Linked DNA regions of Homo sapiens: all the other regions are linked to region 3. The links are contacts of gene promoters, found by promoter capture Hi-C in blood cells and fetal thymus (Javierre and others, 2016). All regions are on one chromosome and are shown on one strand. The core of a region is centred on a gene start or on the middle of the fragment in contact, and the rest is flanking DNA. Distances in the headings are between cores, read along the strand shown.

Evidence for each region. Contacts are between HindIII fragments. The CHiCAGO score rates a contact against its expected background, and 5 or more counts as called.
Region 1: a contact is called between a fragment that was not itself captured here and the fragment with the promoter of UBE4A in region 3, in 6 of 17 cell types (neutrophils, activated CD4 T cells, M2 macrophages and 3 more). The highest score is 8.7, in neutrophils.
Region 2: a contact is called between the fragment with the promoter of TTC36 here and the fragment with the promoter of UBE4A in region 3, in 2 of 17 cell types (activated CD4 T cells and non-activated CD4 T cells). The highest score is 6.0, in activated CD4 T cells.

What each region holds. Positions count from the first base shown.
Region 1 is chr11:118,165,113-118,168,806 of GRCh38, reverse strand. SCN2B (sodium voltage-gated channel beta subunit 2) reads left to right here. Exons shown (of 4, transcript NM_004588.5): 2 at 56-222; 3 at 512-722; 4 at 1,721-3,694. The coding sequence ends at 1,920. Among named protein-coding and RNA genes, the nearest start is that of SCN2B, 9.7 kb to the left of the region's middle. The HindIII fragment of the contact is 6,967 bases long and covers 1-3,694 here.
Region 2 is chr11:118,524,664-118,528,723 of GRCh38, reverse strand. TTC36 (tetratricopeptide repeat domain 36) reads right to left here and starts at 1,250. Exons shown (of 3, transcript NM_001080441.4): 1 at 1,112-1,250; 2 at 1-121. The coding sequence starts at 1,229. KMT2A (lysine methyltransferase 2A) reads right to left here. Exons shown (of 36, transcript NM_001197104.2): 36 at 1,892-4,060. All of the region lies in intron 1 of TTC36-AS1 (TTC36 and KMT2A antisense RNA 1), which reads left to right. The HindIII fragment of the contact is 1,033 bases long and covers 851-1,883 here.
Region 3 is chr11:118,357,168-118,361,206 of GRCh38, reverse strand. UBE4A (ubiquitination factor E4A) reads right to left here and starts at 1,607. Exons shown (of 20, transcript NM_001204077.2): 1 at 1,533-1,607. RefSeq lists an enhancer at 1,601-1,670. The HindIII fragment of the contact is 13,441 bases long and covers 464-4,039 here.

The DNA.
Region 1 (3,694 bases), core at 872-3,371, 190 kb after region 3:
CCCCTCCCCAGCCCTTTCAGCCAGACTCCTCACCAGCTTGTGGCTTCATCTGCAGTGCCACCAGGACGGAGCATGGAGGTCACAGTACCTGCCACCCTCAACGTCCTCAATGGCTCTGACGCCCGCCTGCCCTGCACCTTCAACTCCTGCTACACAGTGAACCACAAACAGTTCTCCCTGAACTGGACTTACCAGGAGTGCAACAACTGCTCTGAGGAGATGGTGAGTCCTGGGCTGAAGGCAGGGGCAGGGGAGGAGGTAGGAGCCCCATGGCATGAAGCCCCTGGTCCCACCACCGGCCCCGGCACTGCGCTAGGGCCCCAGAGGACCCTGGGTGGGCTGCGTGCTCTGGAGGCTCTTGAAACAAGGTGTGCTGCGCATCCAGGTGCCTCACAGAGGTAACTGCCTCTCTTCCCCAGGAAAAGGGTGGATGGGAAGAGGGGGCATCCTCACTGTCCTTGTAGTTCCTTGCTCATCCAGCCACCCATCCTGTCCCTTGCTCCAACCCCAGTTCCTCCAGTTCCGCATGAAGATCATTAACCTGAAGCTGGAGCGGTTTCAAGACCGCGTGGAGTTCTCAGGGAACCCCAGCAAGTACGATGTGTCGGTGATGCTGAGAAACGTGCAGCCGGAGGATGAGGGGATTTACAACTGCTACATCATGAACCCCCCTGACCGCCACCGTGGCCATGGCAAGATCCATCTGCAGGTCCTCATGGAAGGTGAAGGCTGGGGTGCCAGCTGCGGGGCCCTGACCTTTCCCACCCACCTACTCTCTGCGGCATTTGCTCAGGGCACTTTGGGGAGGCCAGGCCCTCCTGAGGATGGGAGCAACCATTTGTGCTGCATAGAAGGAATCCATTTTCTTCCCTCTAGTCCTCAAGAACCTGGGAACATGTCCCAGAGAGTCCTGGTAATGATACAGAATATAATCCCAGTCTTAATAATGGGGCTTGGTGTGATGGCTCACACCTGTAATCACAGCGCTTTGGGAGGCTGAGGCAGGCAGATAGCTTGAGCTCAGGAGCTCGAGACCAGCCTGGGCAACATGGCAAAACTCCATCTCTACAGAAAATGCAAAAATTAGCTGGGCATGGTGGCTTGCACCTATACTCCCAGCTACTTGGGAGGCTGAGGTGAGAGGATCATCTGAGCCCAGCAGGTAGAGGCTGCAGTGAATCATGATTGTGCCACTGCACTCCAGCTTGGGCAACAGAGCAAGACCCTGTTTCAAATGACAACAACAGCAATAATAATGATGGTGATGATGGCAGCTTTCATTTATTGGGCACCTCTATGTCTCAGTCATAGGGCTAAGCTCTGTTTATGCATTATCTCATCCTCATGAAAACCTTTGAGGGAGGTACTATTATTAAGCCCATTTTACATGTTAGAAAACTGAGGTTAGAGAGGATAAGTTACTTAAGGTCACGCAATTCGTAAGTTGTACAATTAGGACTCAAATTTGGGTCTGTTTGATCTTAAAGTTCATGCTCTTAAATACTTCATCACACTAGCTCCTCTGGGGGCTTTGGGTGTCCTGGGATTTGGAGGTGGCGGCGCTTCAGGGTCAGTCACTGGATTGCTTTTCGGCTTTGCTAAAGTCCTGTCTGTGGAGGAGAGTAAAGTCAGGATGGTTCCACGCATGCCACGGGTAGTGGGGTGATGGGGGAGGCCCCTTTCCCAGCCCTGGTGCTCAGTGGCTCTGCTTCCTTTCCAGAGCCCCCTGAGCGGGACTCCACGGTGGCCGTGATTGTGGGTGCCTCCGTCGGGGGCTTCCTGGCTGTGGTCATCTTGGTGCTGATGGTGGTCAAGTGTGTGAGGAGAAAAAAAGAGCAGAAGCTGAGCACAGATGACCTGAAGACCGAGGAGGAGGGCAAGACGGACGGTGAAGGCAACCCGGATGATGGCGCCAAGTAGTGGGTGGCCGGCCCTGCAGCCTCCCGTGTCCCGTCTCCTCCCCTCTCCGCCCTGTACAGTGACCCTGCCTGCTCGCTCTTGGTGTGCTTCCCGTGACCTAGGACCCCAGGGCCCACCTGGGGCCTCCTGAACCCCCGACTTCGTATCTCCCACCCTGCACCAAGAGTGACCCACTCTCTTCCATCCGAGAAACCTGCCATGCTCTGGGACGTGTGGGCCCTGGGGAGAGGAGAGAAAGGGCTCCCACCTGCCAGTCCCTGGGGGGAGGCAGGAGGCACATGTGAGGGTCCCCAGAGAGAAGGGAGTGGGTGGGCAGGGGTAGAGGAGGGGGCCGCTGTCCACCTGCCCAGTGCTTGGCCTGGCAGTGGCTTCAGAGAGGACCTGGTGGGGAGGGAGGGCTTTCCTGTGCTGACAGCGCTCCCTCAGGAGGGCCTTGGCCTGGCACGGCTGTGCTCCTCCCCTGCTCCCAGCCCAGAGCAGCCATCAGGCTGGAGGTGACGATGAGTTCCTGAAACTTGGAGGGGCATGTTAAAGGGATGACTGTGCATTCCAGGGCACTGACGGAAAGCCAGGGCTGCAGGCAAAGCTGGACATGTGCCCTGGCCCAGGAGGCCATGTTGGGCCCTCGTTTCCATTGCTAGTGGCCTCCTTGGGGCTCCCGTTGGCTCCTAATCCCTTAGGACTGTGGATGAGGCCAGACTGGAAGAGCAGCTCCAGGTAGGGGGCCATGTTTCCCAGCGGGGACCCACCAACAGAGGCCAGTTTCAAAGTCAGCTGAGGGGCTGAGGGGTGGGGCTCCATGGTGAATGCAGGTTGCTGCAGGCTCTGCCTTCTCCATGGGGTAACCACCCTCGCCTGGGCAGGGGCAGCCAAGGCTGGGAAATGAGGAGGCCATGCACAGGGTGGGGCAGCTTTCTTTGGGGCTTCAGTGAGAACTCTCCCAGTTGCCCTTGGTGGGGTTTCCACCTGGCTTTTGGCTACAGAGAGGGAAGGGAAAGCCTGAGGCCGGCATAAGGGGAGGCCTTGGAACCTGAGCTGCCAATGCCAGCCCTGTCCCATCTGCAGCCACACTACTCGCTCCTCTCCCAACAACTCCCTTCGTGGGGACAAAAGTGACAATTGTAGGCCAGGCACAGTGGCTCACGCCTGTAATCCCAGCACTTTGGGAGGCCAAGGCGGGTGGATTACCTCCATCTGTTTAGTAGAAATGGGCAAAACCCCATCTCTACTAAAAATACAAGAATTAGCTGGGCGTGGTGGCGTGTGCCTGTAATCCCAGCTATTTGGGAGGCTGAGGCAGGAGAATCGCTTGAGCCCGGGAAGCAGAGGTTGCAGTGAACTGAGATAGTGATAGTGCCACTGCAATTCAGCCTGGGTGACATAGAGAGACTCCATCTCAAAAAAAAAAAAAAAAAAAAAAAAAGGCAATTGTGCGGAGCCAACCATCACTGCCATTACACTCACATTCAATGGAAATTGATTAGGCCTGAGAGAAGGAGCAAGAGGCAGAAACACTGACTCTGAGACCATGACCTTGGAAGATCCTCAGAGATCAACTAGCCAAGTCACTCACTTAAAATGGGGAAACTGAGGTTCCAACTGACAGAAACTGAGGGTCCTGCCCTCTTCTCTGGCTCCTCAGTCTCCAGTTTGAAGCAACAGAGCCATCATTTTCCCAGTGGGAGGGGCCTCTGTGTCCTGGTCTATGATGGGGCGAGTTGGAGGGGTGGGCTTCTCTAGCCCTGCCCCCTCCCAGGAGCCCAGCCCCTCTGGC
Region 2 (4,060 bases), core at 1-2,500, 170 kb before region 3:
AGGCAGATGGCTTGGCCAAACCTCTCCAGGGCTGTGCTGAGGTCCCCAGCCTCTGCTGCCATCACCCCCTGCAGCTCCAGGGCCTTGGACTGTTCCAGCTGTGCTTGAGGGAAAACTTCATCTGGGCCAGGGAAGGAGCCAGGAGAAGCCAGGTGTGCAGTTGGTAGCAAGAAGAAAAAGCCACCTCAGGCTTTGGAATTCTGAGATCTGAGCCAGAGCTGACTGGGTATGGGTCACAGCAGGGGTCAGTTGCAGTGTTTGGGGTAGGGGGAGATGAGGTCACTAAGGCTGGGAGCTAGCATTGCCTGAGTTCCAAGAGACCTGGGAAGGGGCCTTGGTTGGTTCCCCATTGCCAAGAGAATGAAGCCCAGACTCCTCAATCTGTTAAAGAAGTTGCTCAAGTTCTTTGTGTATGGCCTCAACAGGCCATACGTTGCAGAGCTTGGATTTGAACCCAGGTCATTCTGGCTCCTGTCTGCATTTTACTCTACTACACCGCCTCTTATGCAAAGGCCACCATGACATTCCCAGATCATGAACATCACTTCTGACGTATCCCTCTGTGTTTCGGCCTGAGTTAGTAAGGTGTAGGCTTTACTCCTCTAGAAACAAAGGATCAAAAACTCCTTCATTAGGGATTAATGGAAAAGCCAGTGAACGCACTCACTGCGGAAGAGTTAGTTTGGAGCTTGGCTTGTGACAGTGTTTAACGGTTACTGGTTGTGCTTGCTATATTGGAACCACTCAACTGAGCAACCATGCCCTGCCTTATTTCAGTCTTCTGTTCTGGTGGTGGTATTCTCTGTTATGACAAAAATGTGAGAGTTTAACATCACCTGGCAGTTAAGCTTGGATCATACAGTCAATTAAGTGGTAAGTTCAGAGGCATGAGAGCTGATGGATCGAGAGACAAACCCCAGCTTACTCCTCTTGGCAGGACATCTCTTACCAAACCCCCATCAGTGCGCTAAGGAGCAGCCAACCTCTCTGATTCCAATCTCAATCATAATCATGGAACAAGGGGCCTTATAAAACCACCTCCCTCTCTGCTACCTCGGGAGGCCAGCAGGCCAGCCTATGTGCAGAGCTACACTCCAGATCAAATGCCCACCTTCTTCTCGTTCTTCCTTTTCTGCTTCCTCTCCGAGGTCCAATCCAACAATGTCTCCAAATGGGGTGTCAGGGTTGAAGATGGCCTGCAGCACTGCCTGATCATTTGGAGTCCCCATGGTGCTCAACTCCAAAATCCCAAAAGGTGACTCCAGATGAGAGAAGAGGGAGGGACGTGGTGAGGGTGGAGCCTCCAGCAGGAAGTTGATCTGAAAGGATGAGGACCACCCCTTCGTGAGGAGTGTCTCCCTGTCCATGGCTGTAGCATTTGCTCAACCTGTGGCCTGGAGGGTTGACCCTGGCTTGGCAGACTACTTGGTTATTTCTCAACTGCCCCTGCCCCCAGGAGAAACAGTAAACAAATCCAGCTTCAGCCTTAAGGTGGAGTGCAGCTAGAGAAGGTGTTCTCCAGCTTCTCCCTGAAATGCTTTCAGTTTATTATATTCACAGTTGAGAAAACCGATAAAAATCAATACTTAACCTCCTTGGATGAAACAGGGGAGCTATGTAGAAGGTAAAGGCCCTGTTCCTTTGTCCTCTTGACCCTGCCTCATATCCACAATTAATTAGGTCCTGAACATACATCACTGATGAATAAAGGAAGAAAATAGTCAAGAGAGCCAGTGTGGAGTGGACCTGAAGGTGGGCTACAGGGAATAATTTAGTGATGCCACCTTAAAGTAAAGGACTGTGGAAGGTACTTTGTGACCAGGTCACAGGCCATGCCCCTCCCGCTTTTCTCCACCCTCTCCAACCAAAGCCAAAAGGAAGCTTAACCATGTGCAGCAATAAACTTGACATGTTTATTAATTAAACTATCACTTAAATAAAAAAAAGTGCATAGAAAATAAACATGTTTAAAAACTCCTTTTTTTTACAACTATGTACACTTTTTACTTTTACATTCAGTCTTTCGTAGAGAGCTTTCAGCATTATTATTTTTTGAACTATTAAAGTATTTTCCTTCATCCCTGTCACAGGGAGTTAACACTGATGGACTTTAGACACATTTTCCTTTTTTTTTTTTCTCTTTTTCTCTAACCAGAAGCTTGGAAGAACACAAGGAAAAAAAACAGATCTGTTATACATGATAAAGTTGTCAAAAAATGTCTTATTTCTAGAAAAGAAGCTTGTCATCTGTTGAGCTCTTGAAACAATTATTCAACTACCTGTATTTACTAAAGAGACTGTTAAAAGTTCAATAAAAGAAACACCACAATTCTATTTTCTTGGTTGAAAGACAGAACTAGAGTACCTCGGAACAAGATACCAGGAAAGCACAGAACACAATTTTCCCCTAAATGCAGGTGGTAACCCCAACATTCATAACCAAAAATAGAGAAACAAGGAGGACAGGTACTGACTGGCAACATTCATGGGCAGAAAAAAATCCAGGTGACACCATGTCTGCATTTTTCTCTGATCCGAGGAATGGACTGTTCTACCATTCCTTTATGGTTAGAGGTTCCCCCCATTTCGGGAATCAGAGGAAAGTGAGCCTGACATCTTCCTGCCGCTACTAGCAACTGTAACACAATCCTTATCTATAGTGTTAAGAGAATTAAAAGCCATGGACTGAACTAGGCTTTGTTACATGGTGCATTACTATATTAGTTCCTATATATATCATATTTATATTTATTTGAAAACCAAAACAAACAAAAAGTTGCAAGTTTCCAGAGTGTGTGACTTGACTAGTATTCATGATTCGGCACAAAACCATCTGCTCCATAACCTTGTATTGCTTTAAAATGAAGGAAATGAAACATAAAATTACACCCAGCCCTTTGCAATGACCCGCTTTTCCTTAAAAACAAAAACAACTTGATTTCTATTAAAAAAAAAAAATCCCAAACCGAACTTAGAAGTTAACATCTGACAAGGTTTTGACCTTTAGTATTTTCAGATATTTGATTGAACGTCAGTCCTTTAGAAAGATACATTCATTAGAATATTTTTTTTATTTTTGTGTGTGTGTTGTATTTTTTTTTCCTTTTTTTTTTATTTTTTATTTTTTTTAAATCAAGGGAGCTACATGGTGCTCACTGCATTGGCCGGGGGTTTGACGGAGGCGAGCAGGGTGGCGGGCTGGGTCCCGGCAAAGGAGTCTGGTTGAAAACGTATAGCTGCCAGGGCTTCCCCCTTAATTCTTGTTATTGGTGTAAAAACAGAGGGGCTGTGCGAGAGGTGGTGGGTGGCCAAGGAGGGAGCCAAGAGACCAAGTTCCGGCCAAAGGGTCAGCGCCATGCAGCTATTCTGGTTACACAGTTGTCACTGGCCACCAGGAAATGCAGCCACAACAGGTTCTAGCAGCAAAGCTATAAGTGAGCTGGCTCTCACTGAGAACTGACCAGGTTTGCAGCTGTTACTCCTCAGGGATTTGGGATGCCCCTTGGGGGATTCTTGGGAATGACCCATCACAATTCCTCAATCTGCACTTTTGTGCGGAGATTCCCTTGGTCACTTTTGAAATGAACTCAGATGTGTTTGGAGATAGCTGTGCCGTTTTTGCCTTCTTTCCCTCTTGTAGGGAAACCTTCGCTTATTCCCCCAAGTTGCTGGCAGGTGTGCTGAAAATTTGGCAATGGACTCAAGGCTGAGCTAGAAGAGGAATTTCTCATTTTTGTGGTTGACAATTAGGGGGTGGAAAGGCAAGGCAAACCATCTGCAGCTGGCAGGAGAAGGAAGCTGTGGGTTCCTCCCCTGTCCTCAGGGTTTAGGGTTGGTAGAGAGTGAGGAGGGGCTCACAGTACAGCATGGCCTAGCAGGGCAGTAACTAGGTCTATTTAGCTGAGTTCCCCCCACCCCCTGACTGGCCTTTGGGTCTTTCTCAAGGTGAATTCAGGACCCATCAGTGCATTAATCATTTCAGTAACAAATGCAGCTTAAGGTTTTTTTTTTTTCTTTAAAAAAAATAGGAATACAAGGATTTACAAAAAAACCTCACACA
Region 3 (4,039 bases), core at 358-2,857:
CTCCACTAAAAGCGATTACAGGCGCATACCACCACACCTTAGCCAGGCTGTAATCCCACTACTTGGGAGGCTGAGGCAGGAGAATCACTTTTAAACTGGGAGATGGAGGTTGCCGTGAGCTGAGATCGTGCCACTGCACTCCAGAGCAGAGCCTGGGTGACAGAGCCAGACTCTGTCTCAAAAAAAAAAAAAAAAAAATACACACACACACACACACACATATATACATACATATATGTATGTATTTTTTTTCCTATTTTCAACTGCCATACAGAGATACAACACTATCCTGTTGTCAGACACTTTGGGATGGTACAGCTACCAACCTTAGAAGCTTTTGGATTTGATTCTTTTAAAATATATCCTCCTTGAAAACAAGTTTCACTCTGATACACTTGCTGCAAAGATCTATATCTATAATAGCTGTCCTACAAAATTCTGTCACTTCCTCCTAATACAAGCTTTTGTTTATGAATAGTACCACTAATCCTTTAAGACCACTGTCAGCTCTCATGAACACACAAGTGTGTTAACATCAGACTTGGTATTGTTTTTCAACAGAAATATCTGGAACACTTTGTAAAACTGGGATCGTCAAAATCAAGCTCTATCAAATCATACTCCCATAAGGTCTGTGTCCTGGCAAATAATACATATATCAATATAAAATAGAAATTAAAATATCAATTTAAAATAGAAATTAAGAAACAATTTTCGTTGTCGTATGTTTCACCTAACACTATCAGGCCATGCTAATGTGGCAACAAATTCCATCAACACATCTATCTGCAGCCTAGAAGGATCTCAAGTCAAAAAGCAGACAGCAGTCCTTCTTGGATCCCATTTTATCGCAGGTGGGCTTCCACGTGAGACCAAAACAGTAAATGACAGCGAGACTAAACACATGCTTGCTGTCAGGGCATAAAACTGATCCTAAAAGGAAGGCTCATCAAATATAAGGTCATGAGGCATGGTCACTCAATTTTAGAAGTGTCTTCTAAACCCAAGGAAACATGAAGCAGAGTGCCCCAAGAGTTATCTGTGGTGAACTCATCACCTGCCTTAAGAATTATCAACACCCTGACGTATGCATTGAACTGGTTTGCTTACGACTCACGATTAATCTTATCTTCTTGGCATCTGCCTATTTGTTATCTACTCTTTATATTTTATCCTTCCATGCTCCATAAGGGATTCGCGGGAAGGAGGGAGATCCACCCGCCCGGGGCACGTTCTAGAGAAAGTTAAGTCAAAAGATAATGCAATGATAGCGCTCCGGCCTCTTCCAGGAGGGGCTTGGCAAAGATGGGGACAGAAATGTACAAAGAGACATCAGAAGCTGGGGCACTGTAAGGGGTTCCAAATCAGACAGGGTCGAAGTTCAAGAAGGAGAAGGTCCCTGGTTAGCAAAGCATAGGAGAAGGAATTTGGAGAAGATAAGAGTGAACAGGCTTGAAGTGGCATTGGACCAGCAGAAAATATCACAACGCAAAGTCAACGACCCCGTCCCCTGAAGCTATTGCCTGTCTTACCAGAGCCTGAAGTGCCAGCAGCGACGACACGACAGAATCTCAGCGGCCGAAGGGTTCCCACTTCCGACTCAGCACAGCAACCGGAAGTTACGTCATCAACAAGCGCCGGGGCATGTGGAAGTTCATCTCCGCGCCGGAAGCACGGTGTGCAGGCTCACCGGGGGGAACGGCGCGCAAATAGTCCTACAGCGCATGCGCTAGCTTGTTAGGGGCGGGCTGGAGGCGGGCAGGAAGTGGCAAGAAGTGGCCTTGGCATCGGATTGTGGGGGCTGGAGTTGGCCCACCTGGCAGTGCGCTTTGGAGTATAGAATATGAGGCTGGGTTTTGGAAATCAGCGTACCGAGGGCAGATAAAACTCTGTGATCCCTGGCTCTGCTCGCAACCTCTGTTGGGGGTCTGCTCTCTTATTTTCCCACCAGTCCTAGACCTTTTTGAAGCAGCTTCTGTTACTCTCTATTATTCAAAGGGATAACACTAACAGCAATAACAACTACAAGTTTGTTATTGTTGTGCTGTCTTTGGAGCAATCTTTGGAGTGTGCTATCTTTGATTGGATTTCAGTTTTCTTATCTGTAAAGTGGAGACAGTATACATCCTACAAGGTTGTTTTGAGATACACATAGATGGCCAGGCACAGTGGCTCACGCCTTGTAGTCCCAGCACTTTGGGAGGCTGAGACGGGCGGGTCACGAGGGCAAGAGATCGGGATACACATAAATAATAGAAGCAGCATAATTTTCAAGAGTTAAAAGCGCTGTGCAAGTGAAAATTCACAGATTGAGAGAAAATAGTTGCAACTCATATATCTGATAAAGGATTCATCTCTAGAATATGTAAAGAACTACAAGAACGAAAAACCCCCAAACAGTTCAGTTCAAAAAAGGGCAAAGGACTTGAATAGACATTTCTCCAAAGAAGATACATTCCAAGAGAATGACTATCCACTTGGTATCTGTGGGGGATTTGTTTCAGGACCCCCTTGGGTACCAAAATCCAAGGATGCTCAAGTTCCTTACATAAAATGATGCAGTATTTGCATATAACCTATGCACATCCTCCTGTGTCATCCTAGAGATGACTAAGTCATCTCTAGATCACTTATAATACCTAATACAACATAAATCTAAATAGTGTTGTATTGTTTAGGGAATAATGACAAAAAGTCTGTACATGTTCAATACAGATGAAATTTGTTTTGGAATATTTCCAATTCATGGTTGGTTGAAGCCACAGATGCAGAGCCCACAGATATGGAAGGCCAACTGTACAAATGGTGGATAAGCATATGAAAGAGTGCTCAACACCACTAGTCTTTAGGGAAATGAAAAAAAAAATCATGAGATACCACTTAATACCTACTAGGATGGCTACTATAAAAAAAAAGGAAAGTAATTGTTGGCAGATGTGGAGAAATTGAAACCGTATGCGTTGCTGATGGCAATGTTAAATAGTCCAGACTTTTTGGAAAAACAGTTTGATGATTCCTCAAAAAGTTAAACATAGTATAACCACATGATCAAGCAATTCCGCTTTGATATAGATGTTCAAAATAACTGAAAGCAGGAACTCAGATACTTGTATACATATATTTACAGTAGCACTATTCATAATAACCAAAAGGTAGAAATAACCCAGAATGTTCATTAACAGATGAATGCATAAACAAAATATGGTATATAGCTACAGATGACTTATTCAGCCTTGAAAAAGAATGAAGTTCTGATACACGCTGAAACATTGATGAACCTTGAAAACGTTATGCTAACTGAAACGAGCCAGACAGAAAGGACTAAATAGTGTATGATTCAGTTTATATGTGGTACACAGAATAGGCACATTCCTTGAGAGAGAAAGTATAATAGAGGTCACCAGGGATTGGAGGGAGAGGCGAATGGGAGTTATTGTCTAATGGGTACCAAGTTTCTGTTTAGGAGGATGAAAAATTTCTGAAATGGGTAGTGATGATGGCTACACATTGTGGATATATTTAATGCCATTGAATGGTACACTTAAAAATAGTTAAAATGGGGTTGGGTGCAGTGGCTCATGCCTGTAATTCCAGCACTATGGGAAGCCGAGGTGGACAGATCACTTGAAGTCAGGAGTTCAAGACCAGCCTGGTCAACATGGTGAAACCCTGTCTCTACTAAGAATACAAAAATTAGCTGATCATGTGGATGTGCGCCTGTAATCTCAGCTACTTGGGAGGCTGAGGCAGGAGAATCGCTTGAACTTGGGAGGCAGAGGTTGCAGTGAGCCGAGATCGTGCCACTGCGCTAGAGTGCCTGGATGACAGAGTGAGACTCTGTCTCAAAAAAAAAAAAAAAAAAGGTTAAAATGGTAAATTTTAGGTTACATATCTTTTACCACACACACACAAAAAGCCCTGGGCAATCTTTGTGTGCCTACCACTGTTCTAGTTCCTAAGGATACCATAGTGAAAAAACGTAAGTGTTTTCCTTCTTGGAGCTTATAATCTGGCGAGTGGGGTTGTAACAGCATTTAAA